Regions from separate parts of the Homo sapiens genome. Here region 1 is linked to region 2. The links are contacts of gene promoters, found by promoter capture Hi-C in human tissues and cell types (Jung and others, 2019). All regions are on one chromosome and are shown on one strand. Each heading gives the region's core, a stretch centred on a gene start or on the middle of the fragment in contact. The rest is flanking DNA. Distances are from core to core; before and after follow the strand shown. Region 1 has its middle 3.3 kb from the start of LGALS7. Region 2 holds the start of ITPKC (inositol-trisphosphate 3-kinase C).

What was found. Contacts are between HindIII fragments. The study calls those that stand out against the background at their distance.
Region 1: a contact is called between a fragment that was not itself captured here and the fragment with the promoter of ITPKC in region 2, in 1 of the 25 tissues and cell types used here (spleen).

What each region holds. Positions count from the first base shown.
Region 1 is chr19:38,774,234-38,779,466 of GRCh38, forward strand. No RefSeq gene overlaps it. Among named protein-coding and RNA genes, the nearest start is that of LGALS7, 3.3 kb to the left of the region's middle. The HindIII fragment of the contact is 4,464 bases long and covers 1,396-5,233 here.
Region 2 is chr19:40,715,519-40,720,380 of GRCh38, forward strand. ITPKC (inositol-trisphosphate 3-kinase C) reads left to right here and starts at 1,594. Exons shown (of 7, transcript NM_025194.3): 1 at 1,594-2,772. The coding sequence starts at 1,618. It overlaps COQ8B (coenzyme Q8B), which reads right to left and starts at 1,368. Exons shown (of 15, transcript NM_024876.4): 1 at 1,069-1,368. RefSeq lists silencers at 115-164, 1,485-1,844 and enhancers at 835-914, 3,418-4,119. The HindIII fragment of the contact is 31,130 bases long and covers 1-4,862 here.

The sequences.
Region 1 (5,233 bases), core at 2,378-4,877, 1.9 Mb before region 2:
TCCAACAGGGAGGAGTATGGGTCACCCCCATTGTACAGAGGAGGAGGCTGAAGCTGGGATGGGAAGCGATTTGCCAAAGGCAGGAGCGTGCAGGACCCGTTGCCCTGACCTCTGGCTCTCCTCACCTCTGCTCGCACCTCTCCTGTGGGTTCTGTCTCTGGGGCTGGCTGTCTCACTCTGTCCGTCTCTGCCCCTAACTCTGTCTACCACATATTCCTGTCCCACTTCTCTCCTTCAAGTCTCTCTTCTTCCTCCTTCCAGGACTGCTACCATCATGCCACCAAGTTTGTAGGTCAGGATGAGGTGGGTTTTGGGGTGGTGGGTGGCCTAGCATTCCATCACCACCTAGATCAAAAGCAGAGCAAGGCGGGGACCCTCCCGCCAGGCCCGAAACAGCCCCCTTGGGCCTAAGACTCTGCAAGAGAACTCAGGGTTGGGGAATTGGCTTGGTGGAGGGGCGGGTAGGGCTGAAAGATGCTTCTGAAAGGCAGGGATGGTGTGGGAGCTGAGCAGAAACCACTCCTAGCAGCCCAGCAGCCCTCCTGGACCTTTTCCACTCGCCACTCCAGCTCCTGCCCCACCCAGCAGGCTGCTGAGAGGCCTGGGCAGAGGCAGGCTGGCAGTGGAAAGTTTGGGTGGAGACAGCAGACCCAGAACCATCCTCCACCCTCTGCGTCCCAGGCCCCCAGCCTCTCGCCCCCTCCCCACACACTCCAAGGCACCAAGCTCAGGGACCAGTTCTTGGGAACATGAGCTCAGAGAGGGAGGCTAGCAGCTGCATTTCAGTAGGGGCTGCAAGCACCCCCATTCTGCAGAGGACAAAACTGAGGCTTAGACAGGGGCCACCTCTCAGTCAAGGAAGAGGCCAGCCCCTCAGCTCCAGAGGGGTCTTTGTGCCAAGGACATGTCATGGGCACGGACAGAGAGGATAGCAGGGTGTCCGGTGATCATACCACCAGCCCAGCTCAGTTAGTTCCCGAGAATGTTCCCCTGAATGGTGGACTCCATTGTTCTAACATTATTGACCATTCTAAAGAAGACACTCTCGCCTGGGCAACACAGCAAGACCTCATCACTACAAAAAATAAAAATAAAATAAAATAGCCCAGTGGGTTGGCGCACATCTGCCTGTAATTCCAGCTACTTGGGAGGCTGAGGCAGGAGAATTGCTTGAGCCCAGGAGATCAGAGGCTGCAGGGAGCTATGATCACACCACAGCTCTCCAGCCTGGGCAACACAGTGAGACCTCAGTCCACAAAAAGAAAAGACACTCCTTACATTACTTGATACATCATTCTGTACCTTGCTATTGTTTCCCAAGAACATCTTTTTATTTATTTCTATTTCTTCACTGTGGCTGGATATGACTTCACACCCAACCAACGTGCAAGTCCCAACTTGCCTTAAGTGATTGGTCAAATGGTTGCAGTCAATCTGTTACCAGTCTAAAAGGCTGGCTCCTTTCCTGTAACTGAGATATGCATCCTCGATGGGCTCTTATTCATTAGTGTTGGTTATGTTTCTCATCAGTTGTGAAACAATATTTTCTTTTGTTTTTTTTTTCTTTTGTTTTTTTTTTGAGACAGAGGCTCACCCTGTCACCCAGGCTGGAGTGCAGTGGTGCGATCTCGGCTCGCTGCAACCTCCACCTCCCGGGTTGAAGTGATTCTTTGGCCTCAGCCTCCTGAGTAGCTGGGATTACAGGCACCCACCAACATGCCTGGCTAATTTTTTTGTTTGTTTGTTTTTGGTTTTTTTTGAGACAGAGTCTTGCTCTGCCGCCCAGGCTGGAGTGCAGTGGCACCATTTCGGCTCACTGCAAGCTCCGCCTCCCTGGTTCACGCCATTCTCCTGCCTCAGCCTCCTGAGTAGCTGGGACTACAGGCTCCCGCCACCACGCCCAGCTAATTTTTTGCATTTTTGGTAGAGACGGGGTTTCACTGTATTAGCCAGGATGGTCTCGGTCTCCTGACCTCATGATCCGCCCGCCTCGGCCTCCCAAAGTGCTGGGATTACAGGCATAAGCCACCGCGCCTGGCCTAATTTTTGTATTTTTAGTAGAGACAGGGTTTCGCCATGTTGGTCAGGCTGGTCTCGAACTCCTGACCTCGTGATCTGCCCTCCTCGGCCTCCCAAAGTGTTGGGATTACAGGTGTGAGCCACTGCGCCTGGCCTGAAATAATATTTTCGTGAGCCTTTTTTCTTTTTCTTTCTCGTTTTTTGAGACAGAGTCTCGCTCTGTTGCCCAGGCAGGAGTGCAGTGGTTTGATCTTGGCTCACTGCAACCTCTGCCTTCCAGGTTCAAGTGATTCTCCTGCCTCAGCCTCCCAAGTAGCTGGGATTTCAGGTGCCTGCCACCACGCCTGGCTACTTTTTGTATTTTTAGTAGAGACGGGGTTTCACCATGTTGGCCAGACTGGCCTTGAACTCCTGACCTCAGGTGATCCACCTGCCTCAGCCTCCCAAAGTGCTGTGATTGCAAGTGTGAACCAACGCACCTGGTCACCTTTTTTCAATTTTAAATAGTTAATGTAGGCCGGGTGTGGTGGTGCACACCTGCATTCCCAGCTACTCGAGAGGCCGAGGCAGGAGAATTGCTTGAACCCAGGAGGCAGAAATTGTAGTGAGCCAAGATAGCTCCATTGCGCTTTAGCCTGGGCAAAAAGAACAAGACTCTGTCTCAAAAAGTATATATAATAATAATAATAATAATAATAATAATAATAAATGTATATATTTCTCAATAGTCTTTCTATCAAGGTATCCTTCCCATAAAATAAAAGATGCAGATATTAAAGGTATAGTTCACTGATTTTGAGAACTGTGGAGACCTATCTAACCACCTCCTCAATTAAGTTTCCTGGTGTCCAGGAAATAGTGGCCTCTCTTCTAGTTCCAGGAAGCCACTGGCCAGTGTCACTCCTGACCATTTTTTTGTTTTGTTTTGTTTTGTTTTGTTTTTGAGATGGGGGTCTCACTCTGTCACCCAGGCTGGAGTGCAGTGGTGCAGTCTCCGCTCACTGCAGCCTCAATCTTCCAAGCTTAAACCTCCTGGGCTCACCACCTCAGCCTCCCGAGTAGCTGGGGCTACAGACACACGCCACCATGCCTGGCTAATTGTGTATTTTTTGTAGAGAGAGGGTTTTACGATGTTGCCTAGGCTGGTGTTGAACTCCTGGAGTCAAGCGATCTGCCTGCCTTAGCCTCCCAAAGTGCTGGGATTACAGGCATGAGCCACTGGGCCTGGCCACTGCTGAGCATTGACTAGCCACCGAGGTTCTTTTGTCTCAAAATAAAGAAGAGGGAGTAGACTGATTTTTCTTACTTTATGCCTCTTTTAGGAAATAATTTAGATGAAAAGTAGCTAATTGCACACTAGGTGGTTGTAGAGATTTAAAATTCAGGCTCCATGAATGTCATTTGTTGGTCACATTTTGGTTATTTTTTATACACAGTGAAGGTAATTCTGGGGCTGCTTTTTGTAAATCAACATTCTGATGATGAAAATGACACTTAGAAATCTCACTTTGGCTGGGCACGGTGGCTCATGCCTATAATCCCAACACTTTGGGAGGCCGAGGCGGGCGGATCACCTGAGGTCAGGAGTTCGAGACCAGCCTGGCCAATAGGGTGAAACCCCGTCTCTACTAAAAATAGAAAAAATTAGCCGGGCATGGTGGCAGGCACCTGTAATGCCAGCTACTTGGGGGGCTGAGGCAGGAGAATCGCTTGAACCTGGGAGGCAGAGGTTGCAGTGAGCCAAGATCACGCCATTGCACTCCAGCCTGGGGGACAAGATCGAGACTTCCTCTCAAAAAAAAAAAAAAAAAGGAAAGAAATCTCACTTTGTTCTTGGCCAGGCGCAGTGGTTCACCCTGTAATCCCAGCACCTTGGGAGGCCAAGGCGGTGGATCACCTGAGGTCAGGAATTTGAGACCAGCCTGGCCAACATAGTGAAACCCTGCCTCTACTAAAAATACCAAAAAATTATATATATCTATATTAGCTGGGTGTGGTGGCACACACCTGTGATCCTAGCTACTTGGGAGGCTGAAGCAGGAGAATCACCTGAACCCGGGAGACGGAGGTTGTGGTGTGTGATCGCACCACTGCACTTGAGCCTGGGCGACAGAGCAAGACTCCATCAAAAAAAGACCAAACAAAAAAACAAAAACAAAAACAAAAAAACCCCAGAAACTCACTTTGTTCTTAAGCTTTTATGCCCATTGGAAATCTCACGACTCTATTTTTATAAATATAGTAAATATTAATAAAACAATCCAATTACCGCTAAGAAAAAGTCTATTCTCTAGTGTTCAGTTCCATTTATAAACTTAGTTAATTAAACTCTCTTAAATATTTTAAACTGAATGCATAATTTTAGAGGTTATTCATTTTTCAGTGTTTCAATTGCTCTATAAACTCATCCAAGTAATTCTTGTAAGTTTCCTAGTGATTCTTGTACATTTCAATGCTTAAACAGTAAAATACATGCATAGCTTTTTCTTCTTCCTTCCTTTCCTTCCTTTCCTTCCTTTCCTTCCTTTGCTGAACAATTGGGCCCTAAAGCTATTATGTGGGGCTGAGCAAGGTCATGGTGGCCCTGAATGGGCTGATTGGGGTGGGATGTCCTTGGGAGAGGTGTTTGGGGGTCAGGGCTGAGCAGGATGAGGAGCGCTCAGCAGAGGCTGCGCGTAAGTGCCCAGTGAGGGCCAGCAGGACACGTGACAGGGAGCCTGCACTCCCAGCATGGGAGGAGGACACCTGTGTGGGGTGGGTGCCCGACGAGGGGCATTGGAACCAGCCTCGGGGGGAGGTGCCATGTGGGAGTCAGAGATGAGGACTGGAACTGCTTTTTTTTTCTGGGAGGGAGTTACAGATATGGAAAGGGAGAGGTAGGCACCAGCCCTGTGGAGCTGGACTGGAAGTGGAGGCATTAGCGTGAGCTAATGGTTTGAGGATTGGGTTATTTGGTGGGGCAGGTTTGGACTCTTTTTATTTTTATTTAATTTAACATATTTATTTATTTATTTAGACAGAGTCTTCTCTGCCACCAGGCTGGAGTGCAATGGTGTGATCTCGGCTCACTGCAACTTCCGCCTCCCAGGTTCAAGCAATTCTCCCACCTCAGCCTCCCGAGTGGCTGGGACTACAGGCATGTGTCACTGCGCCTGGCTACTTTTTGTATTTTTAGTAGAGACGGGGGTTTCACCATGTTGGCCAGGCTGGTCTT
Region 2 (4,862 bases), core at 344-2,843:
CCTCCACTTTGCACAAACACCCACATTCTGGCACCCAACCTCCTTCCTTGTGCATATAAATCCCTTGCCTTGCTTGCCAACTGTTTCCCGCTCACGCCTTCAACTCTCTCGTGTACATACCCTCCCCCCCACTTGCACACTGAGTCTCTGTTCCCTCACACACCCTGTTCTCTCCGCTCCCCGCCCACCTGCGGAATGGTGCGACTGGGAGCCCTCTGCTTCCTGTAGGCCTGACATTTCCCAGAACACACTCAGCCAAGATTCCCAGTGCTGAGTCAGGAACCTTGGCATCCCAGAAAACCACCTCCCATCCTATCTTTCTTTCTCTGTGTGTGTGTGTGTGTGTGTGTGTGCGCGCGCGCGTTGGAAAGCCTGCTCTCCCCACAACAGGCTGACTCACCCACTTCTCACAGTCTGGAATAGAGGCATCTGGTTGGGGCATCTTTCCCACCACTGGGAGAGGGAGGGATGCCGATGCTTCCCCCACAGAACCCCGCTGCCCCAACCCCTCTTGTCGGGAATCAGGCCTCTTTGTCTCTATTCCCGTACTGTGTGACCTCAGAAAAGCCCTCATCCCTCTCTGGACTTCTCCTTCCCAACCTGTATGAGGTACTAGGTGGGCTCCTGCCTTCGATTTCTCTCATTGGTCTGTGAAAAGGTGACTCATTTTAGAGCCTTGGACCTGTGCCCAATGTCTCCCCCAGTTGACTCAATTTCAAGACAAACCACCTCCTCTCCCCCTTCAGAGGTGAACGGCTGACTCAGGAGCTGGGTGGCAGCTCAGCCTTGGGGGCAAAATATATCAAAATCACCTAGGACAATAAATAATCCTACTGGGCTACAACTGACAGTGCCAGGCCCGGGGCCACATGCTTCACATACATGAGATCATGTCAGATAGCCCCGTAGCTGCAAGCAAAGGGTAGAGGCCGGCAGATCTCTGAGCCTCTGTTCTCACGTGTAAAATGGAGCCCTGGCATCCCTATTGTTCAGCCTTGGAGAATGAACTGAAATCGTGTCAGGGTCTGATACAGAACAAGTACTCTATACATGACAGAGATTTCTTACGGAAAATCCAATGGAGCGTAAGTCATTTGCTCAGGGTAGCGGAGCTGGGAACTGGCAGAGGAAGGTCTCGAACCCACACCCGTGGGAACTCCAAGTCTTTGAAAGTCCGTCCCGCCCCTGCGTGAAGAATGGGCGCGCGGCTGGACTCGTCACCGGGGGTTTTAGGGAAGGTTGAACTTGTCATTCAACCGTGTAGGGAGGGTGGTTTAGTCACAGGGGTGGAGGGAGGGGGCCCACTGGCGCGCCACCAGGACCCCGGTGCCCTAGATGCATACCTGGCCGCGCTTCGGATGCTCAGAGGCAAACCCCCTCCCCTTGGGAGGCGGAGTCGGACAAGGCTCCGTCTCGTTCCGTTCCGTCACGTCCGGTGGGGCGGGGCTTCGGGGCTTTCCCCTTTGAGGGGAGTATCGGTTAACCCTTGCGCGGCGGGGCGGGCTGGAGCTCCGCGGGCCGGAACCCGGGAGTCGGGGCTCCCCAGCCACACCCCTCGCGGGATTTAAAGGGATAGGAGGGGCCGGGTCGGCCGAAGCCCGAACCGAAGGAGCGGGCATGAGGCGCTGCCCGTGCCGTGGGAGCCTGAACGAGGCGGAGGCCGGGGCGCTGCCCGCGGCGGCCCGCATGGGACTGGAGGCGCCGCGAGGAGGGCGGCGGCGGCAGCCGGGACAGCAGCGACCTGGGCCCGGCGCAGGGGCCCCGGCGGGGCGGCCGGAGGGGGGCGGGCCCTGGGCCCGGACAGAGGGGTCCAGCCTCCACAGCGAGCCTGAGAGGGCCGGCCTCGGGCCTGCGCCGGGGACAGAGAGTCCGCAGGCAGAATTCTGGACAGACGGACAGACTGAGCCCGCGGCAGCTGGCCTTGGAGTAGAGACCGAGAGGCCCAAGCAAAAGACGGAGCCAGACAGGTCCAGCCTCCGGACGCATCTAGAATGGAGCTGGTCAGAGCTGGAGACGACTTGTCTTTGGACGGAGACCGGGACAGATGGCCTTTGGACTGATCCGCACAGGTCCGACCTCCAGTTTCAGCCCGAGGAGGCCAGCCCCTGGACACAGCCAGGGGTTCATGGGCCCTGGACAGAGCTGGAAACGCATGGGTCACAGACTCAGCCAGAGAGGGTCAAGTCCTGGGCTGATAACCTCTGGACCCACCAGAACAGTTCCAGCCTCCAGACTCACCCAGAAGGAGCCTGTCCCTCAAAAGAGCCAAGTGCTGATGGCTCCTGGAAAGAATTGTATACTGATGGCTCCAGGACACAACAGGATATTGAAGGTCCCTGGACAGAGCCATATACTGATGGCTCCCAGAAAAAACAGGATACTGAAGCAGCCAGGAAACAGCCTGGCACTGGTGGTTTCCAAATACAACAGGATACTGATGGCTCCTGGACACAACCTAGCACTGACGGTTCCCAGACAGCACCTGGGACAGACTGCCTCTTGGGAGAGCCTGAGGATGGCCCATTAGAGGAACCAGAGCCTGGAGAATTGCTGACTCACCTGTACTCTCACCTGAAGTGTAGCCCCCTGTGCCCTGTGCCCCGCCTCATCATTACCCCTGAGACCCCTGAGCCTGAGGCCCAGCCAGTGGGACCCCCCTCCCGGGTTGAGGGGGGCAGCGGCGGCTTCTCCTCTGCCTCTTCTTTCGACGAGTCTGAGGATGACGTGGTGGCCGGGGGCGGAGGTGCCAGCGATCCCGAGGACAGGTCTGGGGTGAGTGGGACCCATCCTGCCCTTGAGCCACATCACGCAAAACTCCTTATTCCTCCGCCTTTGCTTAGGAAGTTCTCTACCCATTTACTGTTAGTTGCCCACCAGCAATTTCATCTCCGGGAACCTCTTCCATCCACTGACCTCCTCCCTCTGACAGCCAGGTTACTAATTCACTCCAGGCACCCCTTCTTAATTCTCTCCTTTCCCCTTCCTGCACTGTCTCCACTCCTGGGGGTCTACAATGGAGGGCCACTGACCGACTTTATGGGGCCCAGGAACCCCTGAAATTGTAGGACTAAGGAGCCTGCCGTGCGTGTTCACATACATTGTTGCAGCGACGGTCTGACATCTGTCTAATCCTCTGGAATCTGAAGAACACTGGGATAGGGAGACAGGCAGGGTGCACTTTCTACCCCACATTTCTTAATCTGGGGCCTGTGGCTGTCTTAAAGGGTCACAAACCTTCACCACCCCTTAGCCTATTTGTATGTACATTTTTCTAGGGAGCAAAGCGATTCCCCCAGCTTGCATCAGATTCGCAAAAGGGCTGTGTGACCCCAAACGCCAAAGGATCCTTGGCCTAGCCGGGAGCCCACCTGGTCTCCCCTGTGACCCCTACATCCCCAAGGAGCCCCCTGAACACTCTTGTTTACTTTGTCCACCGTCACCCCCAGCTTGGGTGTGGCTCTCCCCTGGTGAATCAGGAGGACCGGCCGGGCAGGTTCAGGGAGGGCGGGACAGAGCAGAGGCCGGTGTGAAACTGGAGAGCCTCACGTGGGGCTGGGAGCCGTGGGGCTGGGAGCCGAGTCCGGAGTCCATCAGCTTGCCAGCTTGCCTGCTGAGGCCTCTTTTTGCTCTGGGGCCCCTGGCTGGAGTCTGCCCTGAGCCCCGCTTCACCCCACATGCCTTCCTTGGGGACGTGTTCACACATGTGGCCCTAGCTGTGAGAGACAGACCTGCCTTGACGTGCCTGTGCCTGTGTGCAGGGGCTGACCCTCCTGGGCCCCATTGCTTTTTTCTCTCTGCCTGCCCTCTCACTTCCTTGGCATCTCAGAACAGCTGAGCTGGAAGTGGGTGAATAATAATAATAATAATAATAATAATAACAACAACAATTAGCACTCACTCATGTTTAGCCCTGTGCTAAGTGCTGTGCTTTTATTAACTCACTCACTCCTCGCAGCAACCCTAATGAGGTAGATACTTTTTTTTTTTTTCTGAGACAGTCTCGCTCTGTTGCCCAGGCTGGAGTGCAGTGGTGCCATCTCGGCTCACTGCAGCCTTCACTTCCTGGGTTCAAGTGATTGTCCTGCCTCAGCCTCCTGAGTAGGTGAGACACCAGGTGCCCGCCACCACACCTGGCTCATTTCTGTATTTTGAGTAGAGACAGGGTTTCATCATGTTGGCCAGGCTGACCTCAAGACTCCTGACCTCAAGTGATCCACCCGCCTCAGCCTCCCGAAGTGCTGGAATTACCAGCATGAGCCACTGCACCCGGCTGAGGTAGATACTATTATTATCCCCTTTTACAGATGAGGAAACTGAGGCACAGAGAATTCAAGTCACTTGTCCAAGGATATCACCTTGCAAGATGCAGATCAAATAATTCTAATCCTTACTGTACACCAGACACTGTTTTAAGTTTTTTCTTCTTTTTTTTTTTTAGTCTTTTTTGTCAATTTTTTTCTGTCATTTTTTATCTTAAAATAGCATCTATCTTAATTAAGGGCTTTGTATGTGTTAACTCTGAGTCCTTATGACAGCACTGAGATTGTCTCCATTCAACAGATGGGGGCCAGGCTCAGTGGCCCAAGCCTGTAATCCCAGCACTTTGGGAGGCCGAGGCAGGGGGATCACCTAAGGTCAGGAGTTCAAGACCAGCCTGGCCAACATGATGAAACCCTGTCTCTACTAAAATACAAAAATTAGCCAGGCGTGTGATGGCGGGCACCTGTAATCCCAGCTACTTGGGAGGCTGAGGCAGGAGAATCGCTTGAATGTGGGAGGCGGAGGTTGCAGTGAGCCGAGATTGCACCACTGCACTCCAGCCTGGGTGACAGAGCAAGACTCGGTCTCAAAAAAAAAAAAAC